5 separate regions of the Homo sapiens genome follow, and regions 1, 3, 4 and 5 are each linked to region 2. The links are contacts of gene promoters, found by promoter capture Hi-C in blood cells and fetal thymus (Javierre and others, 2016). All regions are on one chromosome and are shown on one strand. Each heading gives the region's core, a stretch centred on a gene start or on the middle of the fragment in contact. The rest is flanking DNA. Distances are from core to core; before and after follow the strand shown. Region 1 overlaps RABL6 (RAB, member RAS oncogene family like 6). Region 2 holds the start of ANAPC2 (anaphase promoting complex subunit 2). Region 3 overlaps LOC107987143 (a long non-coding RNA gene). Region 4 holds the start of LCN6 (lipocalin 6). Region 5 holds the start of TRAF2 (TNF receptor associated factor 2).

Region 1 (3,362 bases), core at 620-3,119, 380 kb before region 2:
CCATTTCCGTATGTTTCTATGAGGTTTTAGGACGCTACGCCTATCCAGTTTTTTGGTCACTTTAAGGGGAGCCTTAGAGCCTCCGTGATATTTCCATGGTAATGTAGAATTTTAAGAACTAATGATCAGAAAGACTCTTGTGCAGGTTTAAAAGCAAGTTCATGAATTCGCGTGCCGTGTGCACGGAGAGAGGCCGTAGTTCCTGGGGCTGGAGCTAGTCCAGGAGGACAGTGAAGATGTCGCCTTCCTTAGTCCCCCGGCCTGTGAGCAAGAGGAAGCTGCAGACCACTCGGGCCACCCTCACCCAGACACCTTTAGCAGTAAGCAAGATAAAACAACTTCTTAAAGATAAGTCTGAGCATCTAGGTATGAAAGTTGGTGTCCGGGCCGGGCACGGTGGCTCATGCCTGTAATCCCAGCACTTTGGGAGGCCAAGGCGGGCAGATCACGAGGTCAGGAATTCGAGACCAGCCTGGCCAACATAGTGAAACACCGTCTCTACTAAAAATACGAAAAAAAAATTTAAAAGAAAGTTGATGTCCGAACCAAGGGCCGTATTGGCTTTTCTTATACTCTAGAACATACGACGACAAAGAAGATTTTGATGAAGTTCAAATTAGAGTCAGCGTGCTCATCAGAAAGAAAGCGCAGCCAACACGTTTAGGAACAGAAACGGATTATGTTGAAGACAAACAATCCATTGCGTTTGTGTTCAGTAACCCAAGCATCAAAGGAACTTGTGGCTGGGGAGAAGGCTTGACTATTTGAAATCTCAGGACTCCTCTGTCCAGGAGCTCCCAGACTCCCGTGGAGTGGAAGCCTGGGGGCTCGCTGAAGAAGTCACGTGACTGGAACGTGCTTAATGCTTGGCTGTCTGGTAAGGAAAATAAAGTGGTGCATTTTGAATAAAAATAAAAGCTGATTTTAAATGTGTTATAATTGAAACTTTATACATAGCTGGCATTCGGAGAAGAGAATATTGAGTCAAAATAACTGAGTTTACGCCAGTTTTTAGACTCTGCGTTTGGATCCTTTATTTAATTTTATTGCTTACAGTATTGGCTAAGCTCAGTATTAGTCCCTGGGAAATCAGGCCTGGACCTGGAAACTGTTCACCTTCTGAAAAGGCTCCCCGAGGGTCCTGGGCAAGGTCCACCTCATGCACCAGGACCACCCCTGTGTGGTCCTGGGCGAGTGTGACTAAAAAGGGCAATGGGGTCCTTCCAGAGGAGAAAAGCCAGTCTCCAGTACTTGGAGAACAGGTTATGATCTCCTAGAACTGAATGAAAGGTGGTGAGACAGAGAGAAATTTGAATTTGTACCTAAATTACATTTTAGAAAGATGTTATCTTTATAGCTGAATAACATGCAATTTTAAAACTTTTGAGTTTCTGTGTTAGAATAGAAAGTTTCTAGTATTTCTTTTCTTTTCTTTTCTTTTTTGAGACAGAGTTTTGCGTTTTGCTGTGTCTCCCAGGCTGGAGTGCAGTGGCGTGATCTCAGCTCACTGCAAGCTCCTCCTCCCGGGTTCACACCATTCTCCTGCTTCAGCCTCCCGAGTAGCTGGGACTATAGGCACCGGCCACCACGCCCGGCTAATTTTTTGTATTTTTAGTAGAGGCAGGATTTCACCGTGTTAGCCAGGATGGTCTCAATCTCCTGACCTCGTGATCTGCCCGCCTCAGCCTCTCAAAGTGCTGGGATTACAGGCGTAAGCCACCATGCCCGGCTTTCTGGTATTTATTTTCTCAAATATTTTACAGAGCGTAACAGACCAGCAATGTGATCAAGACAGAGTCGAGGGTTTTGGGGGTGAGAGTTTCTGGGAACTGCTGCGGGTTTCCAGGAGTCTGGGCTCTCCTCCTGGGCCCTGCATTTGCTCGGAGTTGCTAGTGGTCCCGGTAGACGTGTGGGACACCCACTGGTTTTAGAATAAAAACTCGAATGAGACATTGGACCATAATGGATGAAAAAGTCAAACTCTGTCAAATATTTGAAGAGATTTATTTTTGAGCTGAATATGAGTGACCATGGCTCGTGACATAGCCCTCAGGTGACCCTGAGGACATGTGCCCAAGGTGGAGGGCACAGCTTGGTTTTATACATTTTAGACATGAGACAGTAATCAAATACATTTAAGATATATGTTGATTTGGTCCACAAAGGCGGGACAACTTGAAGTGGGGGCTTCCAGGTCGGAGGTAGTTTAAAAAAATTGTGTTTTTTTGCCGGGCGCGGTGGCTCACGCCTGTAATCTCAGCACATTGAGAGGCCGAGGCAGGCGGACAACCTGAGGCCAGGAGTTCAAGACCAGCCTGGCCAACATGTCGAAACCCCGTCTCTACTAAAACTATAAAAATTAACCGGGTGTGATGGTGGGTGCCTGTAATCCCAGCTACTCAGGAGGCTGAGGCGGGAGAATCGCTTGAGCCCAAGTGGCAGAAGTTACAGTGAGCTGAGATTGTGCCACTGCACTCCAGCCTGGGTGACAGAGTCAGACCCTGTCTCAAAAAAAAAAAAAAAAACAATTGCACCACCACACCCAGCTAATTTTGGTATTTTTTAGAGAGACAGGGTTTCACCACGTTGCCCAGCTGGGCTCAGACCCCTCTACTCAAGCAGTCCGAACCCCTTGGCCTCCCAAAGTGCTGGGATTACAGGCGTGAGCCACCGCGCCTGGCCAGATTATGTTTCTTATCAGACTTAAAGTCAGTGTTGATGTTAAATGCTGGTGAGCTTTTCCTGAATTCCAGAAGGGAGGAGGCCACAATGAGGCCTGTCTGACTCCCCTCTTCCCATAATGGCCTGAACCAGTCTTTCAGATGAAATTTGGATGGCCCTGGCCTAGAAGAGGAAGTCCATTCAGATGGTTGGCAGGCCTTGGGATTTTAATTTTGGTTTACACAATTTTGAAATTATTTGCATATAAAATTATTAGGAAAATTATTTGAAATTATTTGGAAGAAAGATTGTTGCCTGAGTTGGTCTGTCCCTTTCTACTGTGACTGGACACAAAATATCAGTTGTATTTGGTGCAGAATTTTTCTGTGGAGTTGCTCCTGAGTGAGCATTATTGTGCAGCTCTGATACTGGCCTGGCCCAGGAGCTCGGACAACCAGAGTCCTCTCTGAGTAGACACTGGTGCGAATTTAGAAATGGGACTTAGCAGGCCGGGCACGGTGGCTCACACCTGTAATCCCAGCACTTTGGGAGGCTGAGGTGGGCGGATTACATGAGGTCAGGAGTTCAAGACCAACCTGGCCAACATGATGAAACTCATCTCTACTGAAAATATGAAAATTAGCCAGGTGTGGTGGCGTATGCCTGTAATCCCAGCTACTCGGGAGGCTGAGGCAGGAGAA
Region 2 (3,475 bases), core at 798-3,297:
GGGCGGTTGTACCAAAGGCTTCAAGAAGCCACTGGGAGCACAGAGCACTCCCAGGCTCTGCTGTCCCCGCCCAGCTGGCCTCTATCCAGGTAGGGACACTGGCCTTCCCCATGTGATCAGTGGCAGCAGGTGTGGCTGTCGGGGGCCCTAGCCTTATCTCCTAGGATCAACTCTGAAACGACAACCAACTGCACTGCTACCCTGGCCGCAGAGGTACAGATGCCACTGTTTGTGCCTTTCAGTGCAGTCTCTGGTCTACAGTGACAAAAGGACTCAAGAGGAGGATGAGAAAAGTTGCCGTGTAACTTTTGCAGGGATGAGCCCAACAGAAGCCCTTCACGGTCTCCCTGACCCCTGCCAGCAAAAGGAGCACTCCTTTAGTCCACCTTTAGTCCACCTAAGACCTCTCAAGTAGCTGCATGGCTACACCCCCGTTCAATGTGACAAAACCACCACAAATGGCCAAGGGTATGACAATTGCTAGAGAACTACAACAGGACCTGTCTCTCACAACAAACCCCTCTCCTCTCCAAACTAACAAGAGACTGCTTGCCCTCACAGTGACCTGATCTTCCTGGAGAGAAGCAGCAGCAAGCTTCTGTTCACAATTACAGGGCAAGGAATGTCGACGAGGGTGAGAATCATTCCTCCCCAGGATCGACAAAAGGCACAGTGGAATTCTGCAGAGTCCAGGAAGTTTGGAGTTGCTAAGAAATTTGCTGCTGCAGACACAAGCCACATAGGGCCTTACCAGGGTCAAGGCATGAATCTGTGGGACTGAAGGTGAGTGACAGAAGAGAGACACCTGTGTCCAGGACACGCTGCACAGGAATCCCTGGGACTCTCTCTCTGTCATGTTCCTGGTTATCAGGACGGCTCACCAGCTTTCTGCTGAGGCCAGCTGGACCCAGGGGAGCAGCGGGGAACCAGAAGGAGCAAGGGCATGGCCATCGGGACAGACTACTCACAAGACCTGGCTGAGCTGATGGAACTGCTCCAGAGCCTGGCGACACCAGCACTGTTGCTTGTCACTGCTGCACCCTGCACACAGCGGGCTCTGCAGGAGCCGGTAGTACCGGCGACGGGCATACCGGCTGTCCAGCTCCCCTTCCAGTTCCGGGTCTGTGCCCCCTTCCCCCTTCCTCTTACTCTGCATATAGACTCTCAAGAAGCACCCATACAGACGCTGGATCATCTCTTGGAAGGTTCTGGGGGTGCTAAAGAACAAGACTCCGCGCAACATAGTGTGGACTTCTTCTCGCAGCCCCTGAGCACCAGTGCCCATCAGCAAGCCCAGGCGAGTCCATTTCTCCAGCAGCTCTAGGCTACGCAGGTAGGGATCCAGGCGGCTCTCCAGCAGGCCAAAAGCGTCAAGGAGTAGCAAAAGGCACTGGGGCTCATCCGCAGAGTTCTCGCATTGGGAGATGGCATTCCAGAACTCAGGGGAGATGTTGGCCTGCAGATCGTTCTGCAGCACCTCCACGAACCACTCCTCCAGGACCGAGTGTAGCCCGTGGCCCCTCAGAACCTCCACCGCCGCCCGGAGCTCCTCTTCCTTTGGCGGGACTGCACCGCTGGTCCGGGAAGACACCTGGGGTGCAGAAAACCGTGAGGCGAGGGGAACACAACATAGAGGTGGGGAGAGGCGGGGAAGGGAAGAAGCTGAGGGGGAGGCTGCAAAAACTCCGCTGCCCCCTGTCCGTGCTGCCCGGACGTTGGGCCGAAGCTATGGAAGGGCTGTCAGCGGAGCTGAACGAAACGAAACGGAAAGGTGGTGGAAAATGGCAGGACAGGACAGAGGCGGATGATGGACAGAGCCGTATGAACCCGAGGGTAGCGGCCCCAAAGCGCGTACGGTCCCGGAAACTCCGCGCGGGGCCGCCCCTCTCTTCCCAGGCCTCACCAGCCCCAGCGCAGCCGGCGGCACCAGGCCGGTGCTCACGGTGTTCCAGGCCACTAACAACTCCTGTCCGGGCCGGGAGTCGCTGTCCCCCTCCGCCACCACAACTGCCGCCGCCATCTGCACCCACCGACTCCGAGATTCGCTCGGCGCGGCGCGCGGCGATGACGCACGTCTGCACGCGCAGCCATGACGCGCACAAGGCGCTCAGCGATGACGCGCTAGTTCGGCGCGCCGTGGGGGAGTCGTGCGCAGGCGCGGACAGCGCTGCTTCCGCGGCGGTTGGGGTGGTGGGGCCCCGGGCGGCGTTGACCATGACCCAGCAGGGCGCGGCGCTGCAGAACTACAACAACGAGCTGGTCAAGTGTGAGCGGCGCAGCCGGGACGGGGAGGTCGGGAGGGCCGCAGGGCCGGGTTCCCGGCTCGCAGCGGGGTGCCCCTGGACCCGCCTCGCTGCGGGCATCGCGCGGCTGAGCAGAGCCCTCCGTGCCGGAGGCCGGGTGTCCGTGGCCCGAGCCCTCGCTGGCTCGCAGGCCCCGCGCCGGGCGCTCGGGGGTGGTGCCTGACTCTGGCTTCCTCGGGTGGAAGGAGGCCCGCCCTCCGCCGCCGCGCTCCTGCCCTGGGCCCACAGCGCCGCCCCTCCCGGCCCCCAGGCATAGAGGAGCTGTGCCAGAAGCGGGAGGAGCTGTGCCGGCAGATCCAGGAGGAGGAGGACGAGAAGCAGCGGCTGCAGAATGAGGTGAGGCAGCTGACAGAGAAGCTGGCCCGCGTCAACGAGAACCTGGCACGCAAGATTGCCTCTCGCAACGAGTTCGACCGGACCATCGCGGAGACGGAGGCCGCCTACCTCAAGGTGGAGCTCGGGAGGCCAGGCCGAGCATCAGGGGATAGGCACGGCAGGGGTGTTGCCACGGCAAGGCGTCAGGACCGGCTGGGGCTCCCGGCTGTGGGCAGTCTGTGCCTCGCTGGCATTTCGGGCAGGGGCAGCGTGGCCAGGCCCATTGAGGAACCCAGGCTGCTGTGGGAGTGACTGTGGGGCTGTCTGTGGGGCCTGGGGCATCCTGGGTCCTGGTCTTTATCCGGTTCTCGCTAGCCATGTGGTTATTTCTGCTCAGTGTGAAGAGCCAGGTCTTGGGCAGAGCACCCAGCACGGGCCAGTGCTAACCCAGCCTGGCTTTGAGGGTGGAGAGGAAGTGTTTTGGGTCAGATTCCGGAGGGAAGAGGGCCCTGCCACCCCGTCTGCCAGTCCCCTTGGGCTTCCGCCTTCCCCCACACAGGATCCCTTGGCTACAGCACCCCCAGCCAGGTCCCAGCACCTGAGTGTGAGGACAGCTGGGGCTTAGGACCTTACCAACAGGTGAACATTAACAACCTTCTCACTTCTCTGGCCCCAGATCCTGGAGAGCTCCCAGACTTTGCTCAGCGTTCTCAAGAGGGAAGCTGGGAACCTGACCAAGGCTACAGCCCCAGACCAGAAAAGTAGCGGCGGCAGGGACAGCTGACCAGACCACGGGCAGGGCCTGCCTCCGTGTGCCCCTCAGCTCAGCCCCAGCAAGTGTGTGCTCAGAGCATCTT
Region 3 (3,381 bases), core at 661-3,160, 420 kb before region 2:
AAGACCCTTGGCCCCCAGCATCGGGGAAGGGAAGGAGCCGAGGGCTTCTGCTTGTGGCCTCCACTGGTCTTCAGGAGGTTCCAGTTCCCAGCCACGCCCCTGACAGGTTCACCTAAGCCAGCAGTTAGATACAGCAGGAAAACTGTGGTCAGCAAGCCACCCAGATGCCGAAGCAAGAGACCGAGGGCACGAGCTGTTCCAGTTTAATAAAATATATAAAATAACAAGAGTTATACTAGATCTAGATCATAGACATGATTATATATGAATATTATTAATCATTAGCTTGTAGCAATTACTCTTTATTCCAATATTATAATAATCCTTGCTCTACAATTATAACCTAGGAAAAACCAGGCCATACAGAGATAGGAGCTGAGCGGACATAGTGAGAAGTGACCAGAAGACAAGAGTGCGAGCCTTCTGTTACGCCCTGACAGGGCCACCAGAGGGCTCCTTGGTCTAGTGGTGACGCCAGCGTCTGGGAAGACACCTGTTGCCAAGCGGACCGTGATCTAGCAGTAGCGTCAGTGTCAAGGGAAAACACCTGCTACTTAGCAGACAGGGAAAGGGAGTCTCCCTTTCCCCGGGGGAGCTTAGAGAGGACTCTACTCCTCCACCTCCTGTGGAGGGCCTGACATCAGTCAGACCTGCCCGCAGTTATCCAGAGGCCTAACCGTCTCCCTGTGATGCTGTGCTTCAGTGGTCACGCTCGTAGTCCGCCTTCATGTTCCATCCTGTACACCTGGCTCTGCCTTCTAGATAGCAGTAGTCAATTAGTGAAAGTACTAAAAGTCTCTGATATGCAGAAATAATGATGTAAGCTGTCTCTCTCTCTCTCTCTCCGCCTTGGCTGCCAAACAGGGAAGGGCCCCCCATCCGGTGGACACGTGACTCACGTCACCTTACCTATCATTGGAGATGACTCACACTCTTTACCCTGTCCCTTTTGCTTTGTATCCAATAAATATCAGCACAGCCAGACATTCGGGGCCACTACCGGTCTCCACGTCTTGGTGGTAGTGGTCCCCAGGCCCAGCTGTCTTTTCTTTTATGTCTTTTTCTTGTGTCCTTATTTCTATGCCCTCTCATCTCAGCACACAGGGAGAAACTCACCAACCCTGTGGGGCTGGTCCCTACAGAAAACATCTACAAAACGCATACACCTGAGACGAGACTGAAATCCAGCATCCATGAGGAACTCCCAAGACTGAGTAATAAGAAAACAAGCCACTCCATTAAAAATAAAAAGAGGCCAGGTGTGGCATCTCACGCCTGTGATCCTCGCATTTTGGGAGGCCGAGGCGGGTGGATCACCTGAGGTCAGGAGTTCGAGACCAGCCTGGCCAACATGGTGAAACCCTATCTCTTCTCAAAATACAAAAATTAGCCGGGCATGGTGGCGGGCGCCTGTAGTCCCAGCTACTCGGGAGGCTGAGGCAGGAGAATCGCTTGAACCCAAAGTGAGGTGGGTGGGGGGAGGTTGCAGTGAGCCAAGATCGCGCCGTTGCACTCCAACCTAAGTGAAAGAGCAAAATTCCGTCTCAAAATATATATATAAACAAATAAAAATAAAAAGGCAAGAGATCTGAAAAGATACTCCACCAAAGAAAACATCCGGATGGGAGATGAGAACACGCTCAGCATCAGTCCATGGGAAGATGCAACCTGGAAGCTTTTTGAGACCCCTCTGTGCACCTCGCAGACCATGGAAGGCGTTCCACAGAAACAGGCTCAATCCCTAGAGCCTGTGAGGGCTGGGAGTCAGCAGAGCTATCACCCTCTGCGGGAAGAACAAGACGGGACCACACTGCAAAACTTCCTGGCAGACTCTCATGCAGTGAAACATTCCACCAACCTACCTACTTATGGAGGTCTCCACCCGGGAGAAATGAAAACTACGTTTACAGCGAACTTGAGCACTTCTGCATGAGCAGCACGTGATGGACACTCAGCAGTAAAAGGAACGAAGGTGGCTGAATCCCAGGTGCACCCTGCAGAGGGACAGAAGCCAGGTGGAAAAGGCTGCGATCTGCGACTCCTTTTATACGACGTTCTAGGACAGGTGAGCCCACAGGGCAGGGGGCTTCCCAGTGGCTCTGAGGGCTGAGGTGCGGGCAGTGATTGACCGCAAGGGACCTCGAGGAAGCTTTGTGGGCACCAGAGCTGCTGTGTCGCACTTGCAGTGGTTCCATGAACATTTGCATTTGTCTAAACTCACACAACTGTGCCCTCAAAGGGGCGAATGCAGCTGTGCATACATCATACCTCAACTTTTATTTATTTGTGGTTTTTCTTCGTTTTCTTTTCTTTTTTTCTTTTTTCTTTTTTTTCTTTTTTTTTTTTTTTTTTTTTTTTTTTTTTGAGACGGAGTCTCGCTCTGTCGCCCCAGGCGGGACTGCGGACTGCAGTGGCGCAATCTCGGCTCACTGCAAGCTCCACCTCCTGGGTTCACGCCATTCTCCCACCTCAGCCTCCGGAGTAGCTGGGACCACAGGCGTCCACCACCATGCTCGGATAATTCTTTGTATTTTTAGTAGAGACAGGGTTTCACCATGTTAGCCAGGGTGGTCTCGATCTCCTGACCTTGTGATCCACCTGCCTCAGCCTCCCAGAGTGCTGGGATTACAGGCATGAGCCACCGTGCCTGGCCTTGTTTTGTTTTTTAAGACGGGGTCTCACTCTGTCACTCAGGCTGGAGTGCAGTGGTGCAATCTCAGCTCACTGCAATCTCCACCTCCCGGGTTCAAGCGATTCTCCTGCCTCAGCCTCCCATGTAGCTGGGATAACAGTAGCCACCATGCCCGTCTAATTTTTTTTGCATTTTTAGTAGAGACAGGATTTCACCATATTGGTCAGGCTGGTCTCAAACTCCTGACCTCAGGTGATCTGCCCTCCTTGGCCTCCCAAAGTGCCGGGATTACAGGCGTGAGCCACTGCGCCTTGCCTTTTTTTCGTTTTTGACATAGTGAACTGGGGTCCTTTCTCAGAGCTCAGTCCCCTCCCACCCCAACCCCCATGCACGGCCCCCCCCCGCCACCCTGCCACCCCCCCATGCACTGCCCCCCCCGCCACCCCCCCATGCACTGCCCCCCCCGCCACCCCGCCACCCCTCCATGCACTGCCCCCCCGCCACCCCGCCACCCCTCCATGCACTGCCCCCCGCCACCCCCCCATGCACTGCCCCCCCGCCACCCCGCCACCCCTCCATGCACTGCCCCCCGCCACCACCCCATGCACTGCCCCCCCCGCCACCCCGCCACCCCCCCATGCACTTCCCCCCCGCCACCCCGCCACCCCCCATGCACTGCCCCCCCCGACACCCCGACACCCCCCATGCACTGCCCCCCCGCCACCCCGCCACCCCCCATGCACTGCCCC
Region 4 (3,569 bases), core at 227-2,726, 440 kb before region 2:
GTCCGAATGCATTATCCTCCTTTAAACAGAATTCCCGAAAAAGGCCTGCTGAGAGGACAGGCTTCCCCAGCTCTGACCACAGCCTGCAGCCCAGATGACCCAGGACAGGGATGCATGAAGGAGCATAGTCAGAGCAGTGCCCGCCGCGGTATTGAAGGTGGGAGTGCCACCTGGAGGCCCCAGGGACACAGATGTGAGTAGCTGGGCAGAGGGCTGGTGGCTCTGCACAGAGCCCAGTGGGAAAAGTGACGGGGGTGCAGAGGGGCCGTGGGAAGCCCCCAGGCCGCGGTGCCCGGGAGCAGATGTGCAAAGTACATGATGTGGCTGAGCCACAGTCCTGCCTGCGGGAAGGCCTGGCAGGACCCGCCCACTCACCCGTGCTGAGAGGACAGCGTCCGCAGGTTGTTTTCTGGAGTGAGGGTCACCACCACCCCCACGACGTTCTTCATGTCCTTCTCCATGGCAAAGCCCTTTTCCCGGGAGGCCACCGCAAGCACGTACCAGGGCCCAAGAAGCTGCATTGAGGCGGCTCCCGTTAGGGCCGCCAGCCCTCCAGCCTCCAGCCTCCAGCCTCCAACCCTCCAGCCTCAGCCTCCAGCCTCCAAACCTCCAGCCTCAGCCTCCACCCTCCAACCATCCAGCCCTCCAGCCTCCAGCCTCCAACCCTCCAGCCTCCAGCCTTCCAGCCCTGCAGCCTCCAGCCTCCACCCTCCAACCATCCAGCCCTCCAGCCTCCAGTCTCCAACCCTCCCGCCCTCCAGCCTCCAACCTTCCAGCCTTGCAGCCTCTAGCCTTCAGTTCTCCAGCCCTCCAGCCTCCAGCTTCCAACCCCCCAGACCTCCAACCCTCCAGCCTCCAGCCTTCCAGCCCTACAGCCTCTAGGCTCCAGCCCTCCAGCCTTCCAACCTCCAGCCTGCAGCCCTGCAGCCTCTAGTCTCCAGCTCTCCAGCCCTCCAGCCTCCAGTTCTGCAGCCCTCCAGCCTCCAGCCCTCCAGCCTCCAGTTCTACAGCCCTCCAGCCTCCAGCCCAGCAGCCTCCAGCCTCCAGTTCTCCAGCCCTACAGCCTCCAGCCCTCCAGCCTCCAGTTCTCCAACCCTACACCCTCCAGCCCTGCAACCTCCAGTCTCCAGCCTCCAATTCTCCAGCCCTCCAGCCTCCAACCCTCCAGCATCCACCCCTCCTGCCCTGAGGCTCCTGCCTGTGGGACTCCCCAAGGGCTGGCCCAACTAATTCCCCACTGCTCATGCTGGTCTGGGCTAGCCCTGGGGGGCCCAGAAGCTGTGTGGCCTTAAAGGAGGGGCTGGCCCCCGAGGACCAGCTCTCCCCACCCCCAGGAGGACTGTACCTGCTCAGGGTCCAGTCTTCCCAACCACACGGCCTGGGCCCTGGGCACCGAGACCAAAGCCAGAAAAGCAGCCAGCAGCAGGCCGCCCATCCTCCCAGGTCTACACTGCGCCGCAGGCCCAGGATGTGCAGTCCCTCCAGGCCCTGGAGACCCGTTTATATGGCTCTGAATTTCTCCGTGTGGGTGGCACTAACTGCCAGGAACCCTCCTGGCCTCCTGCAAAATTACCCAGGGGAGCACTGAGCAGTGGCAGCCTCTGAGCCCAGATCAGACCAGCTGCACAGCCAGGAGAGGGTCTGGAGTGTGTGGATCAACCATACTATACTGATCCCCTGCTTTCTTCCACCAGAAGGTTCCAGAATGGGCATCCTAAAGCCAGCCGCACCACCTCCCCCGTTCCTGGGGACCCACGCTCTCCCTCGCCCAGCCTGGGAAGCAGGGAGACTGCTGTCCGCTGCCAGGCCCGGCAGGAGGCCAAGGTCAAGCCCAAGGAGAGGAACCAGGGCGAGAACAAGTGGTTCTCAGGAACTGCGGTTTTGGATATCTTTTGTTTCAATCATTAAATATAAAAAGTCCCTGAAAGCCTTTTGAAAAAGGCTCCCACCTCCTCCTGGCCCACCCACCATTCTGCTTTGTGGCCTGGCCTCTGTCCCCCACAGCCAGCACCCCCAGAACAGACTGTCCTGTTCCTTCCACCTCTGCAGCCCACCATCCGGCCCTGCTGCCTCCTGCCTCCCCTCCCTGGGACCCTGGCCTGCTTGTGCCTCCCAAGGCCCCTTGAGAGCTCTCTGCAGCCCCAGTCCGGGAGCAGAGGACAGAGGTGCTCGGCAGGGTCTATCTGAGCCCCTGAAGCCCACTGGGAGGCAGCCGGGAGGGTCCTCCCCCAGTGCCGTGGCCTGCACCCTCTGGGATTCACTCCCACACACCTTCGCTCATTCATCAACAAGGGTGCAAGGAGCACGTCCATGCAACAAGGCTCCAGTGCCCAGGGCCGCCTGCACTCACAGAGCTTATGCTGCAGCCCTGGCCACCTGCCCTGTACCCACGCAGCAGGGCCTGTGACCACCAGAGTGCAGGAGGAAGGCAGAAACCACACAGCTACTGGGGGCTGGGCCTGCGAAGACTGACCGGGCAGTGGGGCCACGGAGGTGCCAGCCACAGCCATGGCAAGCAGGAGTTGCCCAGGGGCTGAGCCACAGAACAAGGGAGCGGGACACTTAGGCCTGGAGCCTTCAGGAGGGAGCCGTGGCTGCTCGCGGTAATCCCAGCACTTCAGGAGGCTGAGGCGGGAGGATCACTTGAGTCCAGGAGTTTGAGACCAGCCTGGGCGACATAGCAAGACTTCGTCTCTACAAGCAAGTTTAAAAATTAGCTGGACATGGTGGCGTGCTCCTGTAGTCCCAGCTACTCAGGAAGCTGAGGTAGGAGGATTGCTTGAGCCCAGGAGGTTGAGGCTGCAGTGAGCTGTGATCGTGCCACTCCTCTCCAGCCTGGGTGATGGAGCAAGACCCCATCTCTAAAATAAAATAAAAATACAAAAAGGAGGAAGCCGAGCAGCTGGGCCAGGCCTCTGAGAAGGAAACACCTGCCAGCCCCACTAGTGTCCCTAAGGGCTGCGGGGAGCCTGGTTCTCGAGGCAGCCACAAAACAGCACGCTACATCAGCCGGGTGTGGTGGCTCATGCCTATAATCCCAGCACTTTGGGAGGCCGAGGCGGGCAGATCACCTGAGGTCAGGAGTTCGAGACCAGCCTGGCCAACTTAGTGAAACCCCATCTCTAGTAAAAGTACAAAAATTAGCCGGGCGTGGTGGTGGCGCAAGCCTGTAATCCCAGCTACTCGGGAGGCGGAGGCAGGAGAATCGCTTGAACCCGGGAGGCAGAGGTTGCAGTGAGCCGAGATTGCGCCACTGCACTCCAGCCTGGGTGACAGAGTGAGTAAGACTCCGTCTCAAAAAACAAACAAACACACAAACAAACAAACAAACAAAAACAAAGGATAAACCTCAGAGTCTAATGAGACTAGTTCCCTGCTGGGGTGGGGAGCTGGAACAGGGTGGGGGGATGAAGTTAGACTTTTTTGAGTAAACGTTTTTGTATAGTTTTGACTTTGGAATCAAAGTAATTTGGTATGTTATACTGTTATACTCAAAAGTAAAATAAACAAATTCCAAACATGGGATATAGTTGCATTATAGATAAATGACAGCCACACTGAAGGGGAAA
Region 5 (3,656 bases), core at 1,157-3,656, 300 kb before region 2:
GCCAGTTTTTTTTTTACGTGTCTGTGCCAATCTTCTGGAAACAGAGCAGTATAAATTAAACAAAGGCATTTTCATGAGAGCAGCACTGGGGCAAGTACTCTGAGACTGGGCGGCACGGGGCAGTCATCCTGGTCACTACCTGCTCTCGAGGGCTGTGGGCATTTGCCAAGCTTGGGAAACCTTTTCTGGACTTGGGGTGGGGCTGAGGTGGTCTCAGACTCAGCCCTTCAACACTGTCATCATCCAGGACCAGTGAGGTGTGTCACCCCATGTTGGAGGCCACTGTCTGAAAGCTGTTAGAATGACTTTCCCGTTACCCTGAAGGAAGTAGAGTGTCCTAAAACAGGTGAACCCCTTCTTTTTTCTTTGAGATGGAGTCTTGCTCTGTCACCCAGGGTGGAATGCAGTGGCGTAATCTCGGCTCACTGCAACCTCTGCCTCCCAGGTTCAAGTGATTTTCCTGCCTCAGCCTCCTGAGTAATTGGGATTACAGGCATCTGCCACCATGCCCAGCTGATTTTTGTATTTTTAGTAGAGACAGGGTTTCACCACGTTGGCCAGGCTGGTCTTGAACCCCTGACCTCAGGTGATCCACCCACCTCAGCCTCCCAAAGTGCTGGGATTACAAACATGAGCCACTGTGCCGGGCCTTTTGTGTATTTTTTTTTTTTTTTGAGATGGATTCTTGCTCTGTCGCCAGGCTGGAGTGTAGTGGCGCAATCTCGGCTCACTGCAACCTACGCCTCCCGGGTTCAAGTGAATCTCCTGCCTACTCAGTCTCCTGAGTAGCTGTGAGTACAGGCGCGTACCACCATGCCCAGCTAATTTTTGTACTTTTAGTAGAGACAGGGTTTCAACATGTTGGCCAGAATGGTCTCGATCTCTTGACCTCATGATCTGCCCACCTCGGCCTCCCAAAGTGCTGGGGTGAGCCACCGCGCCCGGCCTTTTGTATTTTTTTAGTAGAGACGAGGTTTCACCATGTTGGCCAGTCTGGTCTCAAACTCCTGACCTCAGGTGATCTGCTCGCCTAGGCCTCCCAAAGTGCTGGGATTACAGGCATGAGCCGCCGTGCCTGGCTGTTTTTTCTTTTTTAAAAGAGACAGGGTCAGCCAGGCGCAGTGGCTCATGCCTGTAATCCTAGCACTTTGGGAGGCCGAGGCAGGCAATTGCCTGAGCTCAGGAGTTCGAGACCAGCCTGAGCAACACGGTGAAACCCCGTCTCTACTAAAATACAAAAAAAATTAGCCGGGCGTAGCGGTGTGCGCCGGTAGTCCCAGCTACTCCGGAGGCTTAGGCAGGAGAATTTCTTGAACCCGGGAGGCAGAGGTTGCAGTGAGCCGAGATCGCACCACTGCACTCCAGCCTGGGTGACAGAGCAAGACACCGTCTCAAAAAAGAAAAAAAAGAGACAGGGTCTCACTCTATAGCGCAGCCTGGAGTGCAGTGGTGCAACCACAGCTCACTGCAACCTCCACCTCCTGAGCTTCAGTCATCTTCCTGCCTCAGCCTTCCAAGCAGTTGGGACTACAGGTGTGCAGCACCACACCCAGCTAAATTTTTTTTCCTTTTTTTGGTAGAGATGGGGTTCCCCCATGCTGCCCATGCTGGTTTCGAACTCATGGGCTCAAGCGGTCCTCCTGCCTCAGCCTCCCAAAGTGCTGGGATTATAGGCATGAACTGCCACGTGAACCCTTTCTCATCCCGAGCTGGCTGCTGCAGACTCAGGACAGCTTTGAGCCTCCCAGGTGCAGCCAGGAGGAGACGCCTTCTTACGTTTGAGAGCTCAGTTAGTTCCTGGGCTTGAGCAACCTCACTGAGCCTGCAGGTGCGGACTTGGGACGTTTCCATGGCTGCTTGCAGCAAACTCAGGGGTGATGACGTTGATGGAATCCGATGGCTTCCTGAGTTCCATCTCAAGGCCTTGCTGTCCCAGGAATGTGGGTTTGGGGCGGAGGGGAATTCCAACTGCAAACCAAGTAACATATATGAAATGTGGCATTGGCGCCTGGGGACAGCGTGGCCTGTGTAAATTATGCAACTTCAAAGCCTGCCCTGTTTTGCAGTGTATTCCATCCTTGAGGAGTCCCGTGGTCTCAGGGTCTGAATGCTTGGAGGAGACTTACCTCCGTGAACGTTTCCTTCTCTGCAAAGCGGGGTGAAAGGTCTCCATTTCACCAAAGGCTGGATGGAGAGGGGGTGGTGTGTCCAGTGCTAGCCCGTGCACCGCCAGAGAGAACCTGCTGCAGCTCCCGTTCTCCTGGGCAGATGACAGTGCCGCCTCCCCCATGCAGCCCACAGGACTCCTAGGGCAGCCCCTGTTTTGGCCGCCAAGGCCACTGTTTTCATTTGAGTGTCTGGAGGCCATAGGTTGTGTTTTCACTTGAGGTCGGGAGTTCAAGACCAGCCTGGCCAACATGGTGAAACCTCGTCTCTATCAAAAATACAAACATTAGCCGGGCGTGATGGCGGGCGCCTGTAGTCCCAGCTACTCGGGAGGCTGAGGCAGGAGAATCGCTTGAACCCGGGAGGCGGAGGTTGCAGTGAGTCGAGATCGCGCCACTGAACTCCAGCCTGGGCGACAGAGTGAGCCTCCGTCTCAAAAAAAAAAATAAATAAAGTGCACAACCCAGTAGATTAGCACACCGGCCATGTCGGGCGGCCGTCACCACTGTCCGGTTGCAGAGCATTACCTCACCCCAAAAGGAGACCCCATAGCCTTAATACCTTACTTAAGTGTGCAGTATTCTTTTAGTCCTGTTTCTCATAAATGTTACCCAAATTGAGGCGCCGCTCTGCGCCCGGCACCGGGGGAGGCGGAGGGACCCGCAGGTGTCGGGTAGGTGCGGCCGCCCCGCCAGGGCCCCGCGTCCCGCGCGCGACGCGCGCCTCGTGGGAACCGGTGTCGCCCGGCTTGGGCTCCCGGCTCACCTCTCGGGTGTGCGGCAGGGGTCTCCGCCCCGGGGCCACGGGAGGGGAAGCAAGGGCCTCGCTGTCTCGCCGCACCTGGGGAAGGGACCCAATTAGCGCGGACCCCACAGCGCAGCACCTCACCAGCTCCCCGCACCAACGCCCCGGCGCGCTCTTTGAGGAAAAAGCAGAGGGCGACTTAGGTACCCACGCCGTCTCAGCGCCGACCAATCGGCGCACGCTGCGGCTCCTGCGGGCTCGCTGGTTGGCTCCGGCGTCAGTCCGTCAGGCGCGCTCGGAGCGGGGCGTATCTGGCCAATGGCTCTCGCTACAGCTTCCTGAGGGCTGGCTGGTTGGCTCCCATGTCCGTCCGTCAGGCGCACGCGGCGGAGCGGCGGCGGCGGCGGCGGCGTTGGGGGCGGTAGCTGGGCGGGCCCTTAGTTCCGGGCGCGCTGCGACCGTTGGGTGAGGCGAGCGCGGGGTCGGGTGCGGGGTCGGGCGCGGGCGCGGGGTCGGGTGCGGGGTCGGGCGCGGGGTCGGGCGCAGGCGCGGGCACCTCTCAGGGAGACTCCGGGCCGGAGCGGGAGCGGGGGCGGGAGAGGCCGCGGGGCGGGGGCGGGGCCAGCCCGAGGGGATTTCTCTGAGCCGCTGGGCCGGAAACCAAGTCCGAGCGTGGCTGGCGCGGGAAAGTTCGGGAACGCGCGCGGCCGTGCTCGGAGCAGCGCCAGGGCACGGTCCGGGGTTTT

The links. The method cuts DNA at HindIII sites, captures the fragments that hold promoters and counts their contacts. A CHiCAGO score of 5 or more calls a contact.
Region 1: a contact is called between a fragment that was not itself captured here and the fragment with the promoter of ANAPC2 in region 2, in 9 of 17 cell types (naive CD8 T cells, fetal thymus, naive CD4 T cells and 6 more). The highest score is 8.7, in naive CD8 T cells.
Region 3: a fragment that was not itself captured here is called in contact with the fragment with the promoter of ANAPC2 in region 2 in 5 of 17 cell types (endothelial precursors, naive B cells, activated CD4 T cells and 2 more); the score reaches 7.2 in endothelial precursors.
Region 4: the fragment with the promoter of LCN6 here is called in contact with the fragment with the promoter of ANAPC2 in region 2 in 4 of 17 cell types (naive B cells, total B cells, M1 macrophages and 1 more); the score reaches 7.2 in naive B cells.
Region 5: a contact is called between a fragment that was not itself captured here and the fragment with the promoter of ANAPC2 in region 2, in 2 of 17 cell types (naive CD8 T cells and erythroblasts). The highest score is 5.5, in naive CD8 T cells.

Annotation. Positions count from the first base shown.
Region 1 is chr9:136,809,110-136,812,471 of GRCh38, forward strand. All of the region lies in intron 1 of RABL6 (RAB, member RAS oncogene family like 6), which reads left to right. It also overlaps the pseudogene LOC100422233. Among named protein-coding and RNA genes, the nearest start is that of CCDC183-AS1, 1.9 kb to the left of the region's middle. The HindIII fragment of the contact is 3,825 bases long and covers 1-3,362 here.
Region 2 is chr9:137,186,513-137,189,987 of GRCh38, forward strand. It overlaps ANAPC2 (anaphase promoting complex subunit 2), which reads right to left and starts at 2,048. Exons shown (of 13, transcript NM_013366.4): 1 at 1,904-2,048; 2 at 969-1,591. The coding sequence starts at 2,020. It overlaps SSNA1 (SS nuclear autoantigen 1), which reads left to right and starts at 2,164. Exons shown (of 3, transcript NM_003731.3): 1 at 2,164-2,266; 2 at 2,554-2,753; 3 at 3,295-3,475. The coding sequence starts at 2,215. The coding sequence ends at 3,402. RefSeq lists an enhancer at 1,956-2,175 and a silencer at 2,206-2,555. The HindIII fragment of the contact is 11,278 bases long and covers 594-3,475 here.
Region 3 is chr9:136,766,156-136,769,536 of GRCh38, forward strand. It overlaps LOC107987143 (a long non-coding RNA gene), which reads right to left. Exons shown (of 3, transcript XR_001746981.2): 2 at 1,606-1,994; 3 at 188-1,519. Among named protein-coding and RNA genes, the nearest start is that of LCN15, 3.3 kb to the left of the region's middle. RefSeq lists enhancers at 9-58, 69-118. The HindIII fragment of the contact is 474 bases long and covers 1,674-2,147 here.
Region 4 is chr9:136,747,049-136,750,617 of GRCh38, forward strand. It overlaps LCN6 (lipocalin 6), which reads right to left and starts at 1,477. Exons shown (of 7, transcript NM_198946.3): 1 at 1,346-1,477; 2 at 376-515. The coding sequence starts at 1,435. It overlaps LOC100128593 (a long non-coding RNA gene), which reads left to right. Exons shown (of 3, transcript NR_033913.1): 2 at 30-1,524; 3 at 1,698-2,863. The HindIII fragment of the contact is 9,973 bases long and covers 1-3,569 here.
Region 5 is chr9:136,883,167-136,886,822 of GRCh38, forward strand. TRAF2 (TNF receptor associated factor 2) reads left to right here and starts at 3,350. Exons shown (of 11, transcript NM_021138.4): 1 at 3,350-3,375. MIR4479 (microRNA 4479) reads left to right here and starts at 3,567; the gene lies at 3,567-3,637. It overlaps LOC105376326 (a long non-coding RNA gene), which reads right to left and starts at 3,088. Exons shown (of 3, transcript XR_930448.2): 1 at 2,932-3,088; 2 at 2,127-2,184; 3 at 1,614-1,968. RefSeq lists silencers at 2,775-2,904, 3,125-3,656 and an enhancer at 3,311-3,656. The HindIII fragment of the contact is 4,476 bases long and covers 169-3,656 here.